2 separate regions of the Homo sapiens genome follow, and region 1 is linked to region 2. Evidence: promoter capture Hi-C in 16 types of primary human blood cells and fetal thymus (Javierre and others, 2016). All regions are on one chromosome and are shown on one strand. The core of a region is centred on a gene start or on the middle of the fragment in contact, and the rest is flanking DNA. Distances in the headings are between cores, read along the strand shown. Region 1 holds the start of LINC01562 (long intergenic non-protein coding RNA 1562). Region 2 holds the start of USP24 (ubiquitin specific peptidase 24).

Region 1 (6,048 bases), core at 3,258-5,757, 4.0 Mb before region 2:
AGGTTAGGAAGAAGATCACTGAATAGCTACTTCCTTACACGTGAATATACATTTATGCCAAAGGCATTCAAGATAAGCCTTCTCCCCTTCCCTTTATCTGTGAATAGCTGTGTGACATCAGGCAAGTTACTTAATCTCTTTGAAGCCATATTTGTATTTCTGTAAAAGATGACTGTCACTATACCTTCCAGGTCTCTTTATTTGTCCAGTTCTGTCTAATAAATGGCAGTTATGATTATACACACTAACAACTGTGGCTGGGCACTTTGGGAGGCTGGGATTGCAGGTGTGAGTCACCATGCCTGGCTCTACACAAATTTTAAAAATTAGCCAGGTGTGGTGGTGCATGCCTGTGGTCCCAGCCACGTGGGAGGAAGATGCGGGAGGATAGCTTGAGCCCAGGAGTTCGATGTTGCGGTGAGCTATGATCTTTCCACTGCACTCCAGCCTGGGTGATGGAGGGAGACCCTGTCTCTAAAAATAAATAAATAAATAAATAAATAAGAAAAAAAGTGTTAAAATATTCATATATGATTAGCAGTAGGCATACATAATACAATACAATGATAGATGCCTTTTTTTTTATCATTGCCTATATTCCAACTGAATGAGATCAGAGACAGCCTCATGAAGAAAGTGGTATTTCAGGATAATTTTTTTTTCATGTCAGACCCATAATGTGCTGACGTTGCAACAAGGTTCCAGGGTGGCACATCTCACACATGCACGTGAATACCGAGTCATCATGCTTATGAATTACAAAAGAATCTGAGAATCTTCAAAGATGCTTGATTTCAACAGAAGGGAACAGCATGGCAAAAGTTAGAGGATAGAGGTGGAAAGGCATACTGAAAGTCAAGGCTATGGAAAGCACTGTGATGTGGCTGGAATGTAGGATGCCAGGTTGGAATTGGAGTCACTTGGTTAAGTGTAGACAGTCAACGAAACAATTAATCAAGTCCTGTAACATTTGCTGATTTCCAAGGTATAAATACTCTCACCATGGGCAATTTCAAGCTACCAATCTGGCATCATTAAACACAGAATTAGGGAGAGATGTTCAGCGGCTTGTCATTATAAAGTATTTCTACCACAGAGATACACTAGAAGGAAATAACCTCAATAACACAGATAATAGTGAAATACAGTAAAGTAGTTAGAAAGCCACTCGTTTTGGGTATTTATTATGTTTGTTTTTAATATACCTTTTAACTGTAAGTTTATATAATTTAATTTTTAATAATGACTATGTTTAACAACAAGGTCACACAATTCCTGAAATTCTAACAATTGACTCATATGAGCTAGTATGAACCAACTCTAGCACATCTGTTTATATCTTACATCATTTGTAATATGGGGATATCAGTAGTGTCCATTTCATAGAGTTTTGAGGGTTGAATGAATTACCAGAGAGGGCAAATAAAACACATGCTGTCTAACAGAGAGTGTTTTATAAGAGTTTGCTATGATGGCTATTATTCAACTTGGGCCAAAGACAATGTTATTTTCACATCTGATTAGCTTGTGAGTATCCAAAAGAGCCATGCTGTGTTAGGCCCTAGTCACTCTGCAGATCATTTAATTAGCATTAAATGAACAGAAGTAAAGCATTTGGGACAGTGCCTGACACATAGGAAGCACTACATAAGTGATAGATACAATTTTATTCTGGTAGTTTTATTCATTATTATCAAGACCACATGGCCGGGCATGGTGGCTCATGCCTGAAATCCCTGAACTTTGGGAGGCCAAGGCAGGTGGATCATTTGAGGTCAGGAGTTCGAGACCAGCCTGACCAACATGGTGAAACACCATCTTGATTAAAAATACAAAAAGTTAACTGGGCATGGTGGACCCCGGCTATAATTCCAGCTATTCAGGAGGCTGAGGCACGAGAATCACTTGAACCCAGGAGGTGGAGGTTGCAGTGAGCCAATTGTGCCACTGCACTGCAGCCTGTGTGATAGAGTGAGACTCCGTTTCAAAAAAAACAAAAACAAAACAAAACAAAATTCTATCGTTTTTTTAAACTATGTTAAAATTGTAGCTGATATTTTACTCATCCACAAAAAAATAATGGTCAATAACCATTCATCTTTTCTAAAATATCATTTCCTCTGAGCTCAGGGGAATATGCAACAGTTATTCTCTCACCAGACACAGAGGTCTAAAGCTGTACCTTTGTGAGGTAGTGATATATATATGCTCATGGAAGCAAAAGTTAAAAATAAAAGTAGAACAAATATAAAGGTCTGAATGTAGCCCTGCTAACTGTTCACCTACTTGTCTCATCTACTTGAGTTTGAGCTATTTGAAGGCAGGGACCATGTCCAAGCCATTAATGGGCTTCAAATGCTCCTCCCATCTTCTGGTGAACAACTAGCCTTGTTTGTTTGTTTGTTTACTGAGACGGAGTCTCACTCTGTTATCCAGGCTGGAGTGCAATGGCGTGATCTCGGCTCACTGCAACCTCCGCCTCTCAGGTTCAAGTGATTCTCCTGCCTCAGCCTCCTGAGGAGCTGGGATTACAGGTGCATGCCACCATGCCCGGCTAATTTTTGTATTTTTAGTAGAGATGGGGTTTCGCCACATTGGCCAGGCTGGTTTTGAACTCCTGACCTCGTGATCCACCCGCCTCGGCCTCCCAAAGTGCTGAGATTACAGGCGTAAGCCACTGCACCCAGCCCAAGCTAGTTTTAAACTTAACAATATAACTTATTTTCACAAGGCACTATAGAACTTTTCAAGGGCTTGTGTCAGTGTTACCCACCTGTGGAAAAAAAGAATGAAAAACAAAACTTAAAAAAATAAATCTGGCCTGGCGAGCTGGCTCACGCCTATAATCCCAGCACTTTGAGAGGCCAAGGTGGGTGGATCACCTGAGGTCAGGAGTTCGAGACCAGCCTGGCCAACATAGTGAAACCCCGTCTTTACTAAAAATACAAAAAATTAGTTGGGCGTGGTGGTGCGCGCCTGTAATCCCAGCTATTCAGGAGGCTGAGGCAGGAGAATTGCTTGAACCGGGGAAGTAGAGGTTGCGGTAAGCCAAGATCGCACCATTGCACTCTAGCCTGGGCAACACAAGCAAAACTCTGTCTCAAAAAATAAAAATTAAAAAAAATTAAAACTAACTAAATAAATCTATGTCTGGCCAGGCATACAGTGGCTCACACCTGTAATTCCAGCACTTTGGGAGGCTGAGGCGGGAGGATCGCTTGCGCCCAGGAGTTTGAGACCAGCCTGGGCAACATGGCAAGACTTCGTCTCTACCAAAAACAAAAACAAATGCAAGGCATGGTGGTGTGCATCTGTAGTTCTAGTTACTGGAGAGGCCTGAAGCAGGAGGATCACCTGAGCCCAGGAGGTTGAAGCTGCAGTGAGCCTCGATCAAGCCAGCCTGGGTGACAGAGTGAGACCCTGTCTCCAAAACAAACAAACAATGTCTACAAATTCTAGCACTGTGTAAATATTATGTCAAATAATTGTATAAATTATTATTAATAAAAATTTCTTTAGGTTTGACAATAATTTGTGGGGTAAATTTTCTCACTTTGTAAAAATTCCAGGGTACCTCTGATTTCTGGTAAATTTAGCCAATCATAAATTAAATGAGTTCTTGGAAGCTCAACAATTCCAAAACCAAAATTGTGAGTCAGTTTGTTCTTTCTTTCCTTCTTTCCTTTCTTTTTCTTTTTCTTTCTTTCTTTCTTTCTTTCTTTTCTTTCTTTCTTTCTTTTCTTTCTCTTTTCTCTTTCTCTTTCTCTCCCTTCCTTCTTTCCTTCCTTCCTGCCTCCCTTCTCTCTCTCTCTCTTTCTCCTTCCTTTTTTTTTTGAGACTGAGTCTTACTCACTCCCTCGCCCACGCTAGAGTGCAGTGGCACAATCTGGGCTCACTGCGCTGCAACTTCCACCTCCCAGGTTCAAGCGGTTTTCCTGCCTCACCCTCCCGAGTAGCTGGGACTACAGGCGTGCACCAGCACACCTGGCTAGTTTTTGTATTTTTAGTAGAGATGGGGTTTCACCATGTTGGCCAGGCTACTCTCGAATCCCTGACCTCAAGTGATCCACCCGCCTTGACCTCCCAAATTGCTGGGATTACAGACGTAAGCCACCACGCCTGGCCCAAAATTATGAGTCTTTTCAAAAATTTTATATCAAAAAGGTGATATTTAATGTGGAATTTGAGTGCATTTAAATAAGATAGTGACTTCGTAGAATAGGGACTGCAGAGTAAGAGTGTTCAGACCCATTCGAGTTTAATATAGCCCTACCTCTAAGAATCCTTTCTGTTCCTCACTCAAATGAACTAATTGCTGTCTTTCAGTTCCTCTAAAAACCTTGGGGTCCGTGGCAGGGTGTGGGCTTAGGACTCACCTGATTACTTGTCTTCCCAGGTGGTCTCTGGGCTCTATCAGGAACAAGCCAGGTATGATCATCCTTTTCCCCAGTCCTTAGCGTGGGGTCTGGTATACACACGCACACACAACTTCAGTAAATGGTGAATGAAACGAAAGGCAGTCAAGATCCACCTGTTGAATGAACGTCTATCAGGAGCACTGTCATCCTTCTTGCTTCCTTCTTTTGCATATGTTGTTTGAGCTGCTCATTCAACCAAGGAGAGAGCATACTCTACCTTGGGCAGTGTGCCAGCCTTGCACAGAGGGACAGATGATTCAGCTTGATCAGGCTGTGACAGAGAAAAGCTCAGGGTCTGAGAGCACACAGGATGCGACTAACCCAGACTGGAGGGTCAGGAGAGTCTCCCCAGGGGAAATGAAGTTGCATCCAGAAGGATTCCTGAGAATAATGATTAGCCTGATGAGAAGCAGAAAGGTTGGGAGTGGAGGGAAGTGGGTTTCTGTGAGAGAAACAATATGGACAAAGGCCCCAGGCAGAGGCAATAGTATTCCAGATAACGAAAAGCATTTTAGAGAGTCTAGTTTAGAATTTGTGAAGGAGGTGACAATGCTGCTAATGAGATTGAAAGGGAGTCAGATTTGTAAACCATTTAAGGATTGTCTTAAGGACAGCCTTGAGGAGACACTGAAGGTTTTAACAGGAGAATGACATGATCCGATTTAAATTTTAAAAAGATAACTCTGTCAACTGTGCCAACAGTGAATTGGATGTGGGCAATGATGAACTCAGGAACAGCTGAGAGTCTATTGCAGAAGCCAAGGTGAGAGATGATGGTGGCTTGGACTTTGGTGCTGGGACTGGAAAGAAATGAACAATCTGATATACAACTGGAAGAATAATCTCTCTGGCTGTGATGTGGAAGGATAAGGACGTGATTGGACAGGCAGGGATGGTTCAGTAACGAGCTAGGACTTTATTGTGAAGGGATAAAGGGGAAGCTTTTAACATTTTAATCATGGGACTGATCCATTCCGATATGGGTTTATATAAATAGACCGCTTGGCGGAGGGTGGTGAGAAGACTGTCAGGCAGTGCACAGGTAAGAACTGAGCCCTAGACGGGGCAGGAGCAATGAATGTGGGGAGGCGCGGGAGACGGGAGATTGGTTTCGGAGCCAGGTACGGAGCCAAGCAGTCAGAGAGAAGCAAAAATTGACGCAGCACCGAGAACAGCTGCTAGTGGAGAGGGGGATGGGCGCCGCCGGAGCCGCCCTCGCCTCCTGGCGCCGGGGGCGGGACCAGAGCACGCACGGCGCGATGACGCAGTGCCCGAGCCGGCCTCGTTCTGGCTGCCGCCGTCTCGCTGAGGCGGAGTAGGATGAGGCCCGCGGCCGTGGCTCCGGCGTCGGCGGGGGCAGCAGCAGCTGAGGCAGCAGCTGAGGCAGCCGCGACGGCCGCGCCCCCCCCCGCTGACCTGGATTAGGCCCAGCAGCTCCGTGGCCGCCGCCGCCCCGCGGGGGGGCGGGGTGGGGAAGTGCTTCGTCTCCCCGCCCCCCCCCCCCCATCGCTGCCTCGCAGGAGGCGAACGCCGCGACCCCAGCGGAGCCCGCGGCCCAGCCTTGATCCCCCAACCCCGGGGGCTGGCATGAGCGGCCCCTCGGCGGCACCGTGGGGCGGTGGAGTCGCCT
Region 2 (6,204 bases), core at 2,160-4,659:
TTCACCCAGTTTTTTTACTCTTCTTCCTTCCCTTTAACCCATTACTGTGTCCCATTCCTTTTTCCTTTGAAAGAGAGCCCGAAAGAGTGCAGGACTTCAAGCAAAAGGGCCTGAGTACTAGCCCCACCTCTTCTATTAACTGACTCTGTGGGGACAAGCCACTTCCCCTTTGGGGCCCGAAAGGGTGCATCTGTTAAACAAGGGAGCTGCACTAATTATTAATTTCTAAAGTATGCTTCTTTTTAAAAAATCTGATTCACCTTATATTCTACCCATTATTCGATTCTTAATGGTTGGTGCTCACCACATCATTGCACAGTAGCCTTAAAATATGTCTTTCCCTCATTATTTCTCCTTACTATCCATACTGTTACCAAACAAATTTAATCCTAAAACCATGAGTTGAGCAGAGTGAAAAGCACACTGGCTTTGAAGTCAAAGAGACCTGGGTTCAAATTCAGCCCCTGCCACCCACTACATAATCATATCCCTAAAAAGCCTACGTTAACTCTCTCACCAAGGGTTAAATAAACTGTATAACGCACCTAAGACAGGGCCTGACACCCTGTAGATGCTGGATAATATTTATTACCTTTCCCTATTTCCCAAGATCAAGAGCCTCAGTTTCCCACTGTGTACACCAAGGATGACCAAGAAGTTCCATAGGTGGCATGCATTAAGATTATTAAACCACAGAGGCACATTCTGCGTTAAATGTTTCCAAAAGGCTCCTGTGTGTCAGGAAAGTCTCAGCCTGCCAACCTCTGCCAATACGCTTCGTGGGTAAAGCAGCCTCAGTCACCAGCTCCTCTTGAACTCTTAAAAGTAAACGGTGCAGCTTCCCTCCCCCAGGCCAAATCCACAGGTCTAGGAGAAATGAGGACTTGATGCACTGCTTCGAAAAGATGGAGATTTTATGGATTTTAATTTACCGCAAACCAAACTCCTTAGCCTGCCATTCACGTAAGAAGCCACTCCCAATTCTTTGTACTTACATGTACTGGCAGTAAGCTAAGGTTAGCGCTAATGTTAACATGAATGCACCAAGCATTGTAATTTAAATTGATTTTCCAATCACAGGAAATTAAAAGGTATGACAAAAGAAAAAAAGAATCACATTTCTCACATAATGAGGATACACTGAGCTTTGCAGAGTTATACAAACACCTTCTGAAAAAGCAACGGCTTTCTTCTTGATTTCAAAACTGGGTCAAAAACTAGAAGGAACGAGGGAGGAGTGATAGGAACTGCCAATGAGAAGCTGATTTCTTAAAATGACTTAAGTATGGTTACTCAATTATATGGGAATTTAAAAAAATTCCCAAACTAGGAATAGTAACAATCTTTATTTCCATATACTAGTCAACGATACAGCTAAGTTAGTGGGTTACAGAGGGCAATCTAGCAACTGTGTCTAAGTGTGGAAGCCAAAGAAATCTTGTGCAGAAACCTGTTCTTTTTAAGTGCCACCTTCTTGTTCAAGCTACTTCAGCCCGAGGAACTGTTGCAAAAGCATACAATTAAAAGGATATAACACTGCTCAGGAAAAAGTGTTTCAAAAGGCTTAGCTTCACTAAGCTTAATTCTTCATTAAGAACGAACCAAATTCGTATCTCTACCTAATAACGCAATCCCAATAATTTGAGATCTGTGCTTTTCTGTGGTCAGGCCAAGCTGCTCTACTGGCCCCTGAAATGAACTACCCAACGAATCTGACCAAAATTCCTGCCATGAGCTACTATGTTTCTGCAAAGTAATTATTCAAAAGCACTGCTGCTTCTGGTCGATCTTTTTTCTTTATTATAGAAGAGTCCGTTTTCTTCCCCCACGTTCCTTGCTCACACCCCAAACTAAACAGGCATAGTCTTCTCCACCTAGACTTGAGGTCTCTGATCAAAGCCATTAGCCTCAAGACTCCTCCTCCACCCCCACTGCGCTCCCACCCTGTTCCGCGCCCCTCTGCATAGCACCCTCAGTATGACTACCATCTCTTTCCCCGGTCTAATTTTCTCTCATTTCTGACCTTATCGATGACCAGTACTCCCTCTTTACCCAGACCTGGTGCCAGCTCTATCTTCCAATTCCAGTCCCCATCCCTGCCTAGACCCTCCTCAGCTCCCACCCCTGCCCAGGCCTCCCACCTCTGCCCTCTCAGTGCAATCCCCACTGCTCTCATACCTGATTTTATTCAAGTCCTCATTCCTGGCCGCGGCCCCTTCCCTCTTCATTTTAAATCCTACTCAATGCCCCCCCTTTCCGACCCTTGGCTAAAACCCCAACCTCACTCCTAACCCCAACAGTTTTCCTGTGATCCTGTCAAAGACCACTACTCTGGCCGGCCCACACCGCTTTTTCTGACTCTGAGCCTGGTGCCTCCGCCAATCCTTCACTGAAACCTCGTGCCACAAAATCTCCGACCTAGCCTAGTGCACTAGTACCCCATTTCCGACCCCCTACTGCACGCATCCTTCCCACTATATGCTCAAGTGTCTGTCCTCCCATCTCGGATGATAGCCCTGGAGCCTCCTCCCCATCGTCGGCGTGCATAGCCGGAAGCCTAAGGGACCCCTCCTCACCCCAACCCACAGCTCCGCTGCGCATCCCTAATTCCCTTTCACACGCCTCTCCTATGGGTCCCTCTCCCCACTTACCCCCAATCAAGTGACTTCGGTTCCCAACTGGAGCCTGGGGCTTCTCTCTCTCTCTCCGCCCCGCCCCCACTAAAGCCCCAGTCGAATGCCCTCTCTCCCCACACCAAGCCCAGCGGGGTGTGTCCCCTCCCAGGAACTCCAGCCCAGTGGCTTCCCACAGAGGTCTGGGGTTGCCCCTCCTCACCTCCGCGTCCACCACCTCGTGGTAGGCGGGCGGGGGGTCGAAGCCGCCCCCGCCTCCGGTGCTCCCGCCGCGGGAGGGGCCGCCGCCGCCGCCGTCACCTCCGCCGTCGCCCCGCGGGCCCCCGCCGGGCCCGGGGCTGGGGCCACCGCCGCTGTCCATGGGCTCGTAGCCGCCGTAGTCGAGGCCCGGCCGCTCGTTGGTGAGCAGTGCCACGGCCTCGTTAATGTCGTTCTTGGCCAGGCGCAGGGCCTTGCGGATGGTGGCGGGGTCTGAGAAGCCCATGCACAGCAGCGTGGTCATGTGCTGCTCCTCCTCCGATTCCATGGCTTGGGCCTCCTGGCCGCCCCGGCCAGCGCACGGCGAAGCTACGGGTCCCGGGCCTGGCGGGCCGCGCGGCGCACCCTCCGCGCCGCCTCCGCGCCCAGGTTGGCCCCTGCGTTCCTGCCCCGGGTGCTCCGCAGCAGCCGGGCCAGGCTGGGTGCGGGCTTGGGTCCTGCGAGCCGAGCTAGTGCGGTGAGGCGCTCAGGCGCGGCTGCGGCCCGGCCCAGCCCTGCGCGCCGCCATGTTGGCCTCCTCCCCCTCCGCCTCCTCCTCCCCGGGCGGCGGGGCCGCGCCTCGGCTCCCGGAAGCGGCACGGGAGGCGACCGTGCTCGCCGTTGGCAGGCTAGGGTTGGCGGCGGCGTATTCTGTTTGTTTTAAACGAAGGAGCGGAGGGAGGGGCCGCGCCGCGGAGCGTGCCTAAGGTGAAAGGGCTGCCGTGCAGCCAGGCAGAGGCGAGGAAGGCTTCTCCATCGTCGCCACCGCCCGCCTGTTTCGCCGGCAACAGGTTCCCCCGGGACGGGAGGGGCCGCAGCGCCGCGCAGCTCGCAGCGCTGAACGTCGCGGAAATCCCTTGGCCGGCCGAGCCTCCGCAGCCGCGACCCGGCTTCTCTCCGTCCGAGTCCCCCGAGCCTCTCCGAACCCCCGTTGGACTTCCCCTCCCTGGCCGGCGCCGCCCGACCCGCTCCCCCATCCTAGAGGGAATTCCCTGCGCCGCGGCTGTGAGGCACCTCCACCCCGGCCTGAAATGCACCGCAGTCCTGAAGGAAATCCACCCTCATCCCACGCAGATTCACCCGCAACGCTGCCTGAATACGCCTCGCTGCCCACAGAAATTCCTGCCCAAACCAGACGCGTGGACCACCCAAGACGAAATTCACACTCGACCCTAGCCCCGCCAGCCCTTGCCGAAATCACCCTAAACCCGTTGAAATTAATTCCCAGCTGTCCGAATTTTCCTTCCAACATTAACTGACTACCTGTCTCCGCCAAGCTGACTGAACTCTACCGAACTCTTACCCTGAAAGCCCCTGAGAGTCCAAAATATATTTTTCCAGCCCGAAATCTAAATCCCAGTTCTCTGTATGAAAACCTCCAGAAACCCAGACTCTTACTTCCTTCGGCCACGGACTCGTTCGAACATCGTGGACATCACCTTCCCACATTTTTACCGCAGTCTTTGGCTCCGATTCTTTGTCCCTGCCTCTTGGGCAGCATCCTATCCCTGTTTCTTTCCACCTTTGAGGATTCCTCTACCTCTTTAAAGGCCTGCTTTCTTTGCTTTCTCTTCTCACCTTTGGCATTGGCACACTGGGGTCATATCTTTAGTTCCCTTGACTCCACCATCTAAGCCAAGGGTGTCCAATCTTTTGGCTTCCCTGGGCTACATTGGAAGGAGAAAAATTGTCTTGGACCACATATAAAATATTCTAACGCTAATGGTAGCTGATGAAACTTTTAAAAAATCTCATCATGTTTTAAGAAGTTTACGAATTTGTGCTGAGCCGCATTCAAAGCCGTCCTGGGCCTAAGTCCTTGCTATTTTTCCTCTTCAATTTCCTTCAATCCATAGTTCTCTAGGTTATTTTCCCACCCTTTCCCAAGATTCGGATATCCCTTCATTCTTGCTGAGTTCATCTCCTATGCCTATTCCTACATACTTGCTGAGTTCATCTTCTAATGTCCTCATCCTGGTTTCTTCCTGAACCTGAAATCCAGCTAACCTTACTTTTTCATCCCATCAAACCCCTGCTGTTGCCAGCCCAGCACTCACGAAGATCTTTACATACACCAAATATTAAATTAGGGCCGGTACCTAGACATTGTCTCTGCACTCTGCTGGCATATTTTCCCCTGGACCACGAACCCTTCGTACCTAGTAACTTGCCACCTGTGTTTATAAATACCAGCAATTTGATTTACAGGGTGAATTTGTCACTATTGTTTACTTTTAAATGAAGTTACTGTATTTGTTGTTTCCATTAAAGGCGACATTATAAAGCCTAGGCCTCATATCCAAAGCAAATAAAGTCTCAATTTTTTAATTAAAAGTAACAAAAGGAAACCTCACACTTCTGAACAACAATGACAAGAAGGAATGCCTATAATTGGTTTGGGTCACAATGTACATATTGAAATAAAATTTTTATTAAGTATCAACTTCCAGGTACACAATGAAGTTTTAAATGTTTATCTGTGACATATGAAGAACAAAGCAATCTAAACTGATGTAAGCAGGCTGTCATAAGGTACATGCTGAGGAATTTATTCAACAAATTGAATAAATTTATTCAATAAATAAATAATTATTCAATAAATAATATATTTAATAAATTTAATAAATAGAATAAAAATGATTCTATTTACTGGGTGCCAGGTACTATTCTTCGCACAGACAAAAATTAGATGATGGCAAAGTGAGGGCATTCAATTCTGCCCTGTGTTTGAAGAGTTAATTACTAAGAAATGAATTACAAGGAGAGAGGAAGTAACAAGTAACAAAAAAATTGTTTGCCACTAAAATTTGAGGTAGAACCTAAAAGGTCATGAAAGAGCCGACTGAATCAGATGGCACGTTAAAAGACTCATCAACGGTGGCAGGTTTATAGAACATGACAGAGGAAGCTGTGCTTAGCTGAGAAGAGGAAGCAGAGAAGGAAGCAGAGAAAAACAAAGTCTGTGATAAAAACTGGAAAGGAGCCACAAAAGGCCACAAAAAACAAGGAAGTCCATTTTGGAACCGGATCCTGGAGTGACTGAAAAGGCAGAGTGTCATTTGAGGATGCGAGTAGTATAATCATACTTTTTTGCATGGAAGAAAGCAAGTGAGTACTTTAAACTGTGGAATTGGGATAGCAGGGGTGGGGCCTATGATATGAATATTCATACTTTTCATTTACATTTTTATTTTTATTGCAGTAAAATCTAGAAAATGTTGAGAGGATTTTTAAAAATTTAAATTACATTCAATTCCCATACATCTTTCTCTAGAAAGGTTCTAAAGGAAAAGAAAAAAATAGCTACATAGAGAAGTAAGGTATGATGAACTAT

What was found. The method cuts DNA at HindIII sites, captures the fragments that hold promoters and counts their contacts. A CHiCAGO score of 5 or more calls a contact.
Region 1: the fragment with the promoter of LINC01562 here is called in contact with the fragment with the promoter of USP24 in region 2 in 1 of 17 cell types (naive CD8 T cells); the score reaches 5.1 in naive CD8 T cells.

The regions. Positions count from the first base shown.
Region 1 is chr1:51,230,589-51,236,636 of GRCh38, forward strand. LINC01562 (long intergenic non-protein coding RNA 1562) reads right to left here and starts at 4,508. Exons shown (of 2, transcript NR_147076.1): 1 at 4,377-4,508. It overlaps RNF11 (ring finger protein 11), which reads left to right and starts at 5,685. Exons shown (of 3, transcript NM_014372.5): 1 at 5,685-6,048. It overlaps LOC124904818 (small nucleolar RNA U13), which reads right to left and starts at 768; the gene lies at 665-768. RefSeq lists a silencer at 5,470-5,949. The HindIII fragment of the contact is 11,293 bases long and covers 1-5,357 here.
Region 2 is chr1:55,211,955-55,218,158 of GRCh38, forward strand. USP24 (ubiquitin specific peptidase 24) reads right to left here and starts at 3,410. Exons shown (of 68, transcript NM_015306.3): 1 at 2,836-3,410. The coding sequence starts at 3,159. LOC100507634 (a long non-coding RNA gene) reads left to right here and starts at 3,454. Exons shown (of 1, transcript NR_038320.1): 1 at 3,454-5,501. MIR4422HG (MIR4422 host gene) reads left to right here and starts at 5,907. Exons shown (of 2, transcript NR_146283.1): 1 at 5,907-5,978. RefSeq lists an enhancer at 2,298-2,357 and silencers at 2,818-3,007, 3,078-3,587. The HindIII fragment of the contact is 9,819 bases long and covers 1,577-6,204 here.